Regions from separate parts of the Homo sapiens genome. Here region 2 is linked to region 1. The links are contacts of gene promoters, found by promoter capture Hi-C in blood cells and fetal thymus (Javierre and others, 2016). All regions are on one chromosome and are shown on one strand. The core of a region is centred on a gene start or on the middle of the fragment in contact, and the rest is flanking DNA. Distances in the headings are between cores, read along the strand shown. Region 1 holds the start of NFX1 (nuclear transcription factor, X-box binding 1). Region 2 has its middle 81 kb from the start of RNF38.

Region 1 (5,063 bases), core at 1,633-4,132:
GACTACAGAGGATCTGAAACACACAGGCTTGAGCATTGATGGGTGCAGTATAGAGCCTGAGGGTTTCAGGTTTAATAATAAGGCCTAACATTTATTAGGTATTATGTGCCAGGCACTATCCTAAGCACTTTACATGTATTAACTCATTTAATCCTTACATTCCTGATGAGAAAACTGAAGCACAGAGAGTAGGAACTTGCCCAAGGCCACAGAGGAATTCCAAGGAAGACTCGGGGTTCCAACTCAGTTTGTGTATTAGAGACTGCGCTCTTACACTAACAGAGCTTGGGCAGTGGGTACCATAGAAACATACAGTGAAAAATGGAATGATCATAAAGGTCATAGAGTAACCTCTCACCCAATTCAGGATTTGTCCTGAAAGCTTTCACATAGGCAGAATTCTAGGGGATGGGATGGAGGGCCTCACAAAATCACAAAAGGATTAGACAAATGCAGAGGGTGGCAGAGGTATTCTGGAAACATAAGATAATTTAAAGGTTGGAATGGTTAAATTGGACCAGTGGGTATTGTGTAGTTCTCGCTTGCTTGAAAAAGCGAGACTGGAAAGAGGGGCAGAAATAAGATCAGTAAAGATGTCTAGAGAAGCCTAGTAAAGGATAGGAAAAGAGTGTTTCTCGTTAAGCAGTAATGAGTTGATGCAACTAGAGAATCCAGAGAAGGCTGCATGTACTCATATACAGGATATGTTCAACTAGACATGAGGCAGCAGGCAAAGCCCTCAGGAAAAAAACCCATAAGAGACATGAGGAAGGGAAACAGGACACATTGATCAGGAAACTGGCCATGGCAAAGATCAGAGGCACCATTTTTATTTCACTATTTCAAGTAGCTGGAAGTTAGTAAACAGGATGTCTAGTCACCACGGCTAGAATACAAGTGGTACCCTAAATCCAAGATAACACAGCAGCACAGTAGGTGTCCAACAGGTGGGAAAGGCAGACTAAAGGGAAATCCAACTGGCAGATTACAAAGTCCAGAGACAAGGCTGGCATTGCAGAGTCTGCTCACCGGCAGAAAAGTATCCTCTGCACTGGGCTTCTGTTTAAAGACTTTGATGATGAGGGTGTGGGCTAAAGATGATGCTAAAATACGAACATGGAATGGGAACTAAAGCAAAATCAAACTAAAGCACATGAAAAGGAGTAAGGAGGTCTTTGGACTAGAAGATTTTGCCTCATTAGATACTTTCTGGGTTGGAGGTAATAACTTGGGCACAACACCAAAGTTCAACACGAAGACTCACAACTAGGCCCCACCGAATTCTTCTTCAAACACTGAAGGGTACAGAAATGAGTCAGAAACGAGCCTGTGGATGAGACGATCAATAGATCCAGTTTAGAGAATCTGGTGAAGGACTAGGTGAGGAGAATAACAAAATACCCAGCCCAAAAAGTTTTCCAACCCCAAGGAAGACTTAATATCCACATCAAGACTAGGGTACACCAATGCAGTGTGTTTTCCAACTTTTTTTTTTGAGACGAAGTCACACTCTGTCGCCCAGGCTGGAGTGCAGTGGCACGATCTTGGCTCACTGCAACTTCCGCCTCCAGGGTTCAAGCAATTCTCTTGCCTCAGCCTCCGGAGTAGCTGGGACTACAGGCGCGTGCCACCATGCCCAGCTAATTTTTTGTATTTTTAGTAGAGACGGGGTTTCACCGTGTTAGCCAGGATGGTCTCGATCTCCTGACCTCGTGATCCGTCCACCTCGGCCTCCCAAAGTGCTAGGATTACAGGCGTGAGCCACCACGCCCGGCCCTAACTTTTTAAACTAAGAACCATAGTAATAAATACATTTTACCTGCCACCCAGTATACAAATACATATATGGTCTTCTTGGTGCCCCAACGGCTGGTCAGGGACAGAGCTGAGATTCAAACCAATGGTTTCCAAACTCCATTCTGCAAACTGCTGCCCTGTTTTCCAGAGTGGGCCATAAAATCAAATGAAGGCAGTGGGCTGTGACATATTTTTAAACGAAACAGAAAACAGAATATATTGCTGATTGTAAAACAAACCAACCAACCTCACTGCTTCCAGAAACTTCTGGTTCGCTTTTATATTTATGTAAGTGTACAATATTTAAGGTCGCGATGCAAAATGTTTCTTTTGGTTGCTGTCCAACACATTTGGAAAACACTGATCTATGGAACACCCTGAGGAAATGGATGTTATATCAACGAACAAATGAGGCTGTCTCTACACACTGAGGCAACTCCAGGAGGGGGAGTGAGTGAACAATTACAGAATAGGTACAGTACAGGGCGGGAGCCATCACAGGAATTAACTTATCTACTCCCAACTGACAGATGAGGAGACTGAGACTGAGTCACACGGGGTTCGCAGCAGGCTGAGACTCTAAACTACTGGAATTCGGCTCGCGCCCACGCCACCACTCCAGGCGGTATGAGCACACCACACCCTACACGTCAAGAGCCCGCCACCGTCACTGGCTGTGACCTGGCCGACGCCCGCCTGTCGAAGGTCAGTGCGCCGCTGCCCCAGAAACAGCCTGTGGGAAGGCAGGGCACCCACATCGACTCGCAGCGCCGGGACAAGTCCTCTCTCCTCCGAAACCCAGCTACTGGGCTTCACCATCTAGTCCAAGAAGACACAGATCTTCGTACGCACGATGCGCGGGGCTTGGCCCTTCCGAGCCACTATCCTACGCCCTAGCATGTGCTACTCTCGCGATATGAGTGGCTGAGGCCCTAGAACTTCGTCACTGACCCAATTTCCGCTCCCTGAAAGGGGCCCAGTCCCGCTCGGGCCGGGACAATACCTGAGACAGGAGGCGCCTCCGCCATCCCGTGCCGCAGAACCTAGATCGAGCTGTACAGCCAAGTCAGCACTGTCACCAGGTCACGTGCCCCGGACTTCCGGCGCCGCGAGAATATTCGCATCTGCGCGCCGTGTAGACGGCCACAGAGGTTGCGCAGCCCGAATCTGTGTGGCGCGTTCGTGACGTCAGATAGACGCGCCAGGTGTCGGGCGGGAGGAGGAGACTAGTAGCTGGATGGAAATAGCAACAATCGCAGGAGGGAGGGCGGCGACTTGCGTAATCATTGTGGTTTTCCTTTTTTTATTTTTTGATATAGGGTCTTGCTGCCTTACCCAGGCTTGAGTGCAGTGGTCTGATCATGGCTCACTATAGCTTCAGTCTCTAATCCTCCCGCCTCAGCCTTCCGGTAGCTGGAACTACAGGCGGAGCCACCATGCGCAGCTATTTTTAGTAGAGACGGGTTTCGCCATGTTGCCCAGGCTAGTCTCTCCAACTCCTGGCCTCAAGCGATCCTGCCGCTTTGGCCTCCTAAAGTGCTTGGCTTACAGGCGAGCCACCACGCCTGGCTCCAGACTTTTTTTTTTTTTTTTTTTTTTACAAAGGCGTTTATTCTCATCAGTATCACCGATATTCTCATGGTTCACATTTGCCAACGCCGCTCCTCTCCTTACAGTAGTTAAATGTGCAATCTCACTTGGGGGCCCAGGGAGGGGTGGGGGCTCGGCCCAGGGTGGGGAGGGCGTTGGCACTTCACGTGGACAGGGTGGGCAGCCTGTCCTGCGTGAAAGAGGTGTGGGTGAGTGGGCGGCCAGGGAAGGGGAGTTGGCAGGGGAGGGCCCCGCAGTCTTTTTTTCTTTGGTGGTTGGTGATTCTCCATTCAGATTCCTTCCTGGCTTCCCAGGGTAGGGGAACCATGCAGCTCAGGGCAGGGCAGGGGAGGAAGAGAAGGAAAAAGCAGCAGGCCGCCCGGGGGGAAAGGTGGAGGGTGAACGGCAGGGCAAGGGGGAACGGGTGGCTCCTGAGGTAAGGCACAACCCTGTCTTTGGCTTTCCTGGTGAGGAGTTTCCTCCCCTGCACCCCCTGCCCGACGCTTCTCCCCACCCCCCCACCCCCCAGACCCACACACAGTCCCAGGAGCCAGGGGGCACCACCTCCTGGGGTCCCTGAAACAAGTGGGCTCTGCCACCCAAGCCAGTGCCGCAGGGGCTCGAGGAGGGACACCCGAGGAAAAGGCAGAGAGGGGCAGGCAGGGGCCTACCCAGGACAAGGGGGTGGGGGTGAGAAGACCCTAGGCCCAGGAGCTGGGCCCCCCGCCCCAACTAAGTCCTGGAAGTGGGGGAGCACCTGCTTCCTTTCGGGGGTCTGGCTGGAGCCCCGGTCTGCCCCTTGGCCTCCGTCAGGCCCAGCCACTTGCCAAGTGACCAGGGCATTGTGCTTTGGGGTAAACGCTGGGGTGGGGTGGCAGGCCAGGAGGCAGGGGGAGAGGAGGGATGACTAAGGTGCTTGTGCTTTAGCTGGGGGTGTCGATATCCCCCACTCGGGCCGGCTGGGGGCTAAGGTGCCAGGCCCCGGCCAGGAAGACAGTGCCAAGACCCCAGCAGACCGTGGCACTGACCCCCACAACAAGCAGATGTTAAGAGGGACCCCCAGTGGGCCAGCGGGGCTGCTGGTCCCATCAGGGGGATGGTCTTCAAATCAGATTACAAGGGTCCAGTAGGGGCTGGCCCCCACCCCATCTCCTGAAATCCCCCTGCCCCTGGAGAGACCCCTGGGAGCAGTAGGTAGGCGGGGGTTGGGGAGGCAGAGGAGAGGCAGGGAGGACGAGGGCCAGAAACGCAAACAAGGATGTGGATGGTGAAATGACACCCCGCATAGGGGGATGGGGAGTTAAAAAAGAAAAAAAACTCTCTGCCTTCACATGAAAATCTAAAACAACAACAAAAAACCACCCACTCTGGGCGAGAACAAAAAGAGAGGAATGGTAACAGAGAAAATTCTGCAAACAACTGCTAACAATGGAAGTGGACCCGGCCCTGCCCTGCCCTGCCCTGCCCAGCCCCCAGGAGCTGGGCCCAGCCAACCAGCCAAGGCCTGGGACACCCTGAAACTATAGCCCTGTTGGGGAAGGTGGACAGGGGAGGGGGAACCCGGTCGGACCCACAGGAGCCTAGGCAGCAGCTGGGACTGGAGTCCTACACCCACACTCCACACACACCCACACCCACACACACACACACACACACACTCAGCCTGCCCCCCAGCC
Region 2 (5,063 bases), core at 687-3,186, 3.2 Mb before region 1:
ATTTTGGAACTGCTGATAGTTGCGGTAGATTTCTCATTATTTCTAAACTTTCTATTGGACCTGTGTCAGCAGTTTGAGCTTTGTTGAAATAGATGTGCTCCAGGACATTCTGATATATCAGGTGTAGGGAGGGACCCAGACATCTGATTCTGAGAAAACTCCCCAGTAGATTGGGATGCCCACTAAAGTTTGAGAACCACTATCTTGGGTTTGCCCCAGCCTAGTCCTCATCTTTTCCTTAGGCTGCCCCTCTGTTCCCACTCCTGGATGACTGGGATGGAATTTTGACCCACGTGATACTTTACCTCTTTTGTGGAGCATAAAAGAATGATAGGGTTGGATGCCATACCCCTCTTAATCTAGGTTGTCCATTCCTCTGATTTTCATGGAGTTAGCTAAGGGGCCCACTACCTACCAGGGTTGTTTATCAGGTTTTACAGATTTTAACACATGTGTCAACTGTATGTGGTTTCAAAGTAAGGGCAAAAAGGGTCTAGCAGAGAAGGAAAATTTGGAGAAAGTAAAACCCCCAAAGGTAAACATGTCATTATGTCTTAAGAGAAAGATGATCCATCCCTCTGCAGATGCTAGTGATTGTTTTAGCTTGTGACCAACATTTGAGGTTCAGCCGTCTGAACCTATGGTCAGAGATTAAGGTCTTTAGGAGACAACTGATTATCCCTCAAGATGGAAGAGTGTCCTTTCTCCAAAATTTGCTAGTTTTCCTTCTCTACTAGACCTTTCTTCCTTAGTCCTGATGTGTTTATGAATGAATTTATGTTAACAAATCTGAGGCTTTCTGATAGTGAAATTTGTGAAGTGCCTGTTTGTCTTTGTTAAGGTTCCTCTATCTGGAAACCCACTTTGGAGGTGCAGCATTGCCCAGGTACGCTTTTCTTTTTTTTTGAGACAGAGTTTCGCTCTTGTTGCCCAGGCTGGAGTGCAGTGGCGCAATCTCGGCTCACTGCAGCCTCCACCTCCCAGGTTCAAGCGATTCTCCTGCCTCAGCCTCTCGAGTAGCTGGGATTACAGGTGCCTGCCACCATGCCCGGATAATTTTCATATTTTTAGTAGAGACGGGGTTTCACCATGTTGGCCAGGCTGGTCTCAAACTCCTGACCTCTGTGATCAGCCTGCCTCGGCCTTCCAAAGTGTTGGGATTACACGCGTGAACAGCCGTGCCTGGCCGGTACACTTCTTAACGGTGCTGCTGTGTAGGACCATAGAGATTGCACCCAGCAAAAGGATACCTGTTTCAGGTGGCAAGTGAGGGTGGAAATCTATTCTGTACTCCACTTACCAAGATGAGTACCTGGTGTGGAACTGTGTGCACTCAGAGAAGGGGCACCTTTTCTAATCCACGCAAAGGTGATCTGTGATCTAGCACTGCTCTGCAGCTTTGGAACTGTCAGTCCAGCTGTAACTAACAGTTTCATCCATATGCATTGTGGGCTTTACCATGAGGTCTGGGTTAGTGCTTGCCCTAGGGGCTTCAAGAGTTCTCCATGTGAACTTTTCATGGGAAGGGGCTTTTCATCACCATGCTCAGCTGAACCAAAGAGCACAGCTTAAAATAGTAAACTTTGTTATGAGGCTGGAGAAATATGTACAGAATAAGCTATTTAGAAAATACCACTGTCAGCCTGGCGCAGTGGCTCACGCTTATAATCCCAGCACTTTGGGAGGCCGAGGTGGGTGGATCACCTGAGGTCAGGAGTTCAAGACCAGCCTGGCCAACATGGTGAAACCCCGTCTCTACTAACAATAGAAAAATTAGCTGGGCATGGTGGCGCATGCCTGTAATCCCAGCTACTTTGGAGGCTGAGGCAGGAGAATCGCTTGAACCCGGGAGGTGGAGGTTGCAGTGAGCTGAGATCACGCCACTGCACTCCAGCCTGGGCAACAGAGTGAGACTCTGTCTCAAAAAAAAAAAAAAAAAGGTCTGGGCACAGTGGCTCACACCTGTAATCCCAGCACTTTGGGAGGCCGAGGTGGGCGGATCACCTGAGGTCAGGAGTTCGAGACCAGCCTGGCCAACGTGGAGAAAGCCTGTTTCTACTAAAAATACAAAATTAGCCAGGCGTGGTGGCACATGCCTATAATCCCAGCTACTTGGGAGGCTGAGGCAGGAGAATCGCTTGAACCCAGGAGGCAGAGGTTGCTGTAAGCTGAGATTGCACCATTGCACTCCAGCCTGGGCAACAAGAGCGAAACTTCGTCTCAAAAAAAAAAAAAAAAAAAAAAGACAAAAGTATCTGGTAAATGGAGGAGAGAAAGTATAGTACCTATGTGCCACATTTGCGCTTGTCTTCTTACAGTGCTCACTTGAAGGGGTAAATGCAGTTATTTTTCTCTTCCTATTTCCCCCTGCACTAGCATTCCTGAAGACCTGAGGCTTTTTAGCTAATTTTGAAAATATTTACCCATTTGTATTTTCCATTAAGTGGTTGTTTACGCTTCCTGCTGTTTCATTTTTTCTTGGAGAGAGAGGAGGGGGGAGTACAAACCAAGGACAAGACCGGACTTCCTACTGCTTTTGGAAATAATGGCAGAGTTTTTCAGGACAGTTGTCGTGGATGAATGCTGTTCTGGGGGCTCAAGGGAAAGATACATTTGAAGTGGTTTCTGTTGTCTTTTTTATTATTATTTTTAAACATGATTGAGGGTGGTGGGATAGGAAGTTTCAATTTGCTTATGCTGCTGTCTTGGAGTAATTTTTTGAAAGAAATTATATGTTAAAAAACTAAAGATGTTTAACAAAAGTGGTCTTTTGCCCACAGAAGGGAAATAAACAATTCTTACCTGCAGGCCTTACCCAGACTGGTTTCAGTTTTTTTCCTGTTCTACTTAAATGGATATTAGCGCTGTTCTTGGGACTGCTGAGAACAGTTAACTGCAGTGATGTTGGACAGGTGGAAGAGTAGAATGATGGGAGTATATTGGGGTTTATCAATAGTTACGCTATCAAAAGCTATCACTAGCTGGTGTGGTGGCTCATGCCTGTAATCCCAGCACTTTGGGAGGTCGAGGCGGGTGGATCACCTGAGCTCAGGAGTTTGAGACCAGCCTGACCAACATGGTGAAACCCTGCCTCTACTAAAAATACAAAAATTAGCTGGGCGTGGTGGCACGCACGTGTAATCTCAGCTACTTGAGAGGCTGAAGCAGGAGAATCGCTTGAACCCAGGAGGCGGAGGTTGCAATGAGCCGAGATTGCACCATTGCACTCCAGCCTGGGTGACAGAGCAAGACTCTGTCTCAAAAAAAAAAAAAAAAGAAAGAGAAGAAAAAAAGCTATCACTGCATTTTCTGCTTTTGTGGTAAAATATGTATAGAAATAAGAGAGTGAGATATTGTGAGTTTTGGTGTATATACTGATCCTTTGACTTTGTTGAGAAATGTAGGGAAGTAGTAGTAAGAGGACCAAATATATACATGGAAGGGGCCGGGCGTGGCGGCTCACCCCTGTAATCCCAGCACTTTGGGAGGCCAAGGCGGGTGGATAACTTGAGCTCGAGTTTGAGACCAGCCTGGGCAACATGGTGAAACCCTGTCTTTACTAAAAATACAAAAATTAGCTGGGTGTGGTGGCACTTGCCTGTAATTTCAGCTGCTTGAGAGGCTGAGGCACGAGAATCGCTTGAGCCTGGGAGGCGGAGATTGCAGTGAGTTGAGATGGTGCCACTGCCCTCCAGCCTGGGGAACAGAGTGAGACCCTGTCTCAAAAAAAAAAAAAAAAAAAAAGAAAAAGAAAAAAACTGTATACATAGAATAGCAAGCAGTTAGGTAGTAGGACAATTTGTAGTGCTTTTGGGATGTTCTTGGAGTTGAAAAGTTGGCTGTCCATTCTGCTTCTGCACCTTGGATTTTAGTGGCTGCAGATGCTGCATGCTGACCTTCTGTTGAAATTTGTTTTATTGTCAGAGAACTAAAAAGTGAGCAGTTTCTCAGACTAAACAGAAGTAGAGTAGGCAGAAAGTAAAACAGGTATTCATTTAATAATCACATTTACAGGGCCAGTCGCAGTGGCTCACGTCTGTAATCTCAGCACTTTGGGAGGCTGAGGTAGGTGGATCACTTGAGCTCAAGAGTTTGAGACCAGCCTGAGCAACATGGTGAAACTCTGTCTCTACTAAAAATACAAAACTTAGCTGGGTGTGGTGGTGTGAACCTGTAGGCCCAGCTACTCGGGAGGCTGAGACAGGAGAATCACTTGAACCTGGGAGGTGTAGCTTGCAGTAAGCCGAAATCACGCCACTGCACTCCAGCCTGGGCGACAGAGTGAGACTCCATCTCAAAAAAATAAAAAAATAAAAATTCACATTTACAGATAGAGAAAAGTTGGAACTCATACTTAAAGAGACAGGGTCTTGCTATGTTGCCCATGGTGGTCTTGAACTCCTGAGCTCAAGTAATCCTCCTGCCTTGACTTCCCTAAGTGCTAGGATTACTACAGGAATGAGCCACTATGCCCGGCTGGGACTCATAATTAATAAAAAGTATTTTTCATTTGGCTTTTGTGCTATCTTATTAAAACTTTTTTTTTTATAGATTTGTCTTCCTATGTAGATTTTTATTGCCACCTCAATACATCTTTGAGCATCTACTGAGTGCCAGTAATGCCAATACCAACCACTGGTTAATTAGGATGATAGCTTTTGTTGTCAAAACTTCCTCACTTAAGGTCTTGAGAATCGCATAGAGGGGTGCAATTCAAGACAGTTATTGCTTGCTTTTCTCCCAAATTTCTTGCTTCCTTCTGCTCCCTGGTCTTCTGGGCATGGTGATTGTGCCCATCTGCCAAGATAAGCCCTGCTTCTCTCCACCCCCACATGGGAGGAGATGCAGAAGCTCAACAGAACCCTGGCTGGTCATTACAAGTAAATTCCCACAAACGATATTGAACTAGAACTGAGGGCCACCATAGTGGCTCCAGTTCCTCTTCCTCTGTTGCTACCACCCACTCTTTTCTGTGGAGCCTGGAGGGCACCCTCCCTCCACCATTATACAAAGAAGCTTTGTGCTCTGAGGATGTTCTAAAGGCGGGATTGCTGTAATTATAA

What was found. The method cuts DNA at HindIII sites, captures the fragments that hold promoters and counts their contacts. A CHiCAGO score of 5 or more calls a contact.
Region 2: a fragment that was not itself captured here is called in contact with the fragment with the promoter of NFX1 in region 1 in 1 of 17 cell types (monocytes); the score reaches 5.0 in monocytes.

Annotation. Positions count from the first base shown.
Region 1 is chr9:33,288,335-33,293,397 of GRCh38, reverse strand. It overlaps NFX1 (nuclear transcription factor, X-box binding 1), which reads right to left and starts at 2,882. Exons shown (of 24, transcript NM_002504.6): 1 at 2,801-2,882. The coding sequence starts at 2,825. It also overlaps the pseudogene LOC100862682. RefSeq lists enhancers at 2,607-2,656, 1,638-2,837, 2,807-2,856, 2,867-3,286, 3,992-4,953. The HindIII fragment of the contact is 6,050 bases long and covers 385-5,063 here.
Region 2 is chr9:36,479,230-36,484,292 of GRCh38, reverse strand. It overlaps a transcript of RNF38 not described here. Among named protein-coding and RNA genes, the nearest start is that of RNF38, 81 kb to the right of the region's middle. RefSeq lists a silencer at 1,546-1,725. The HindIII fragment of the contact is 6,165 bases long and covers 1-5,018 here.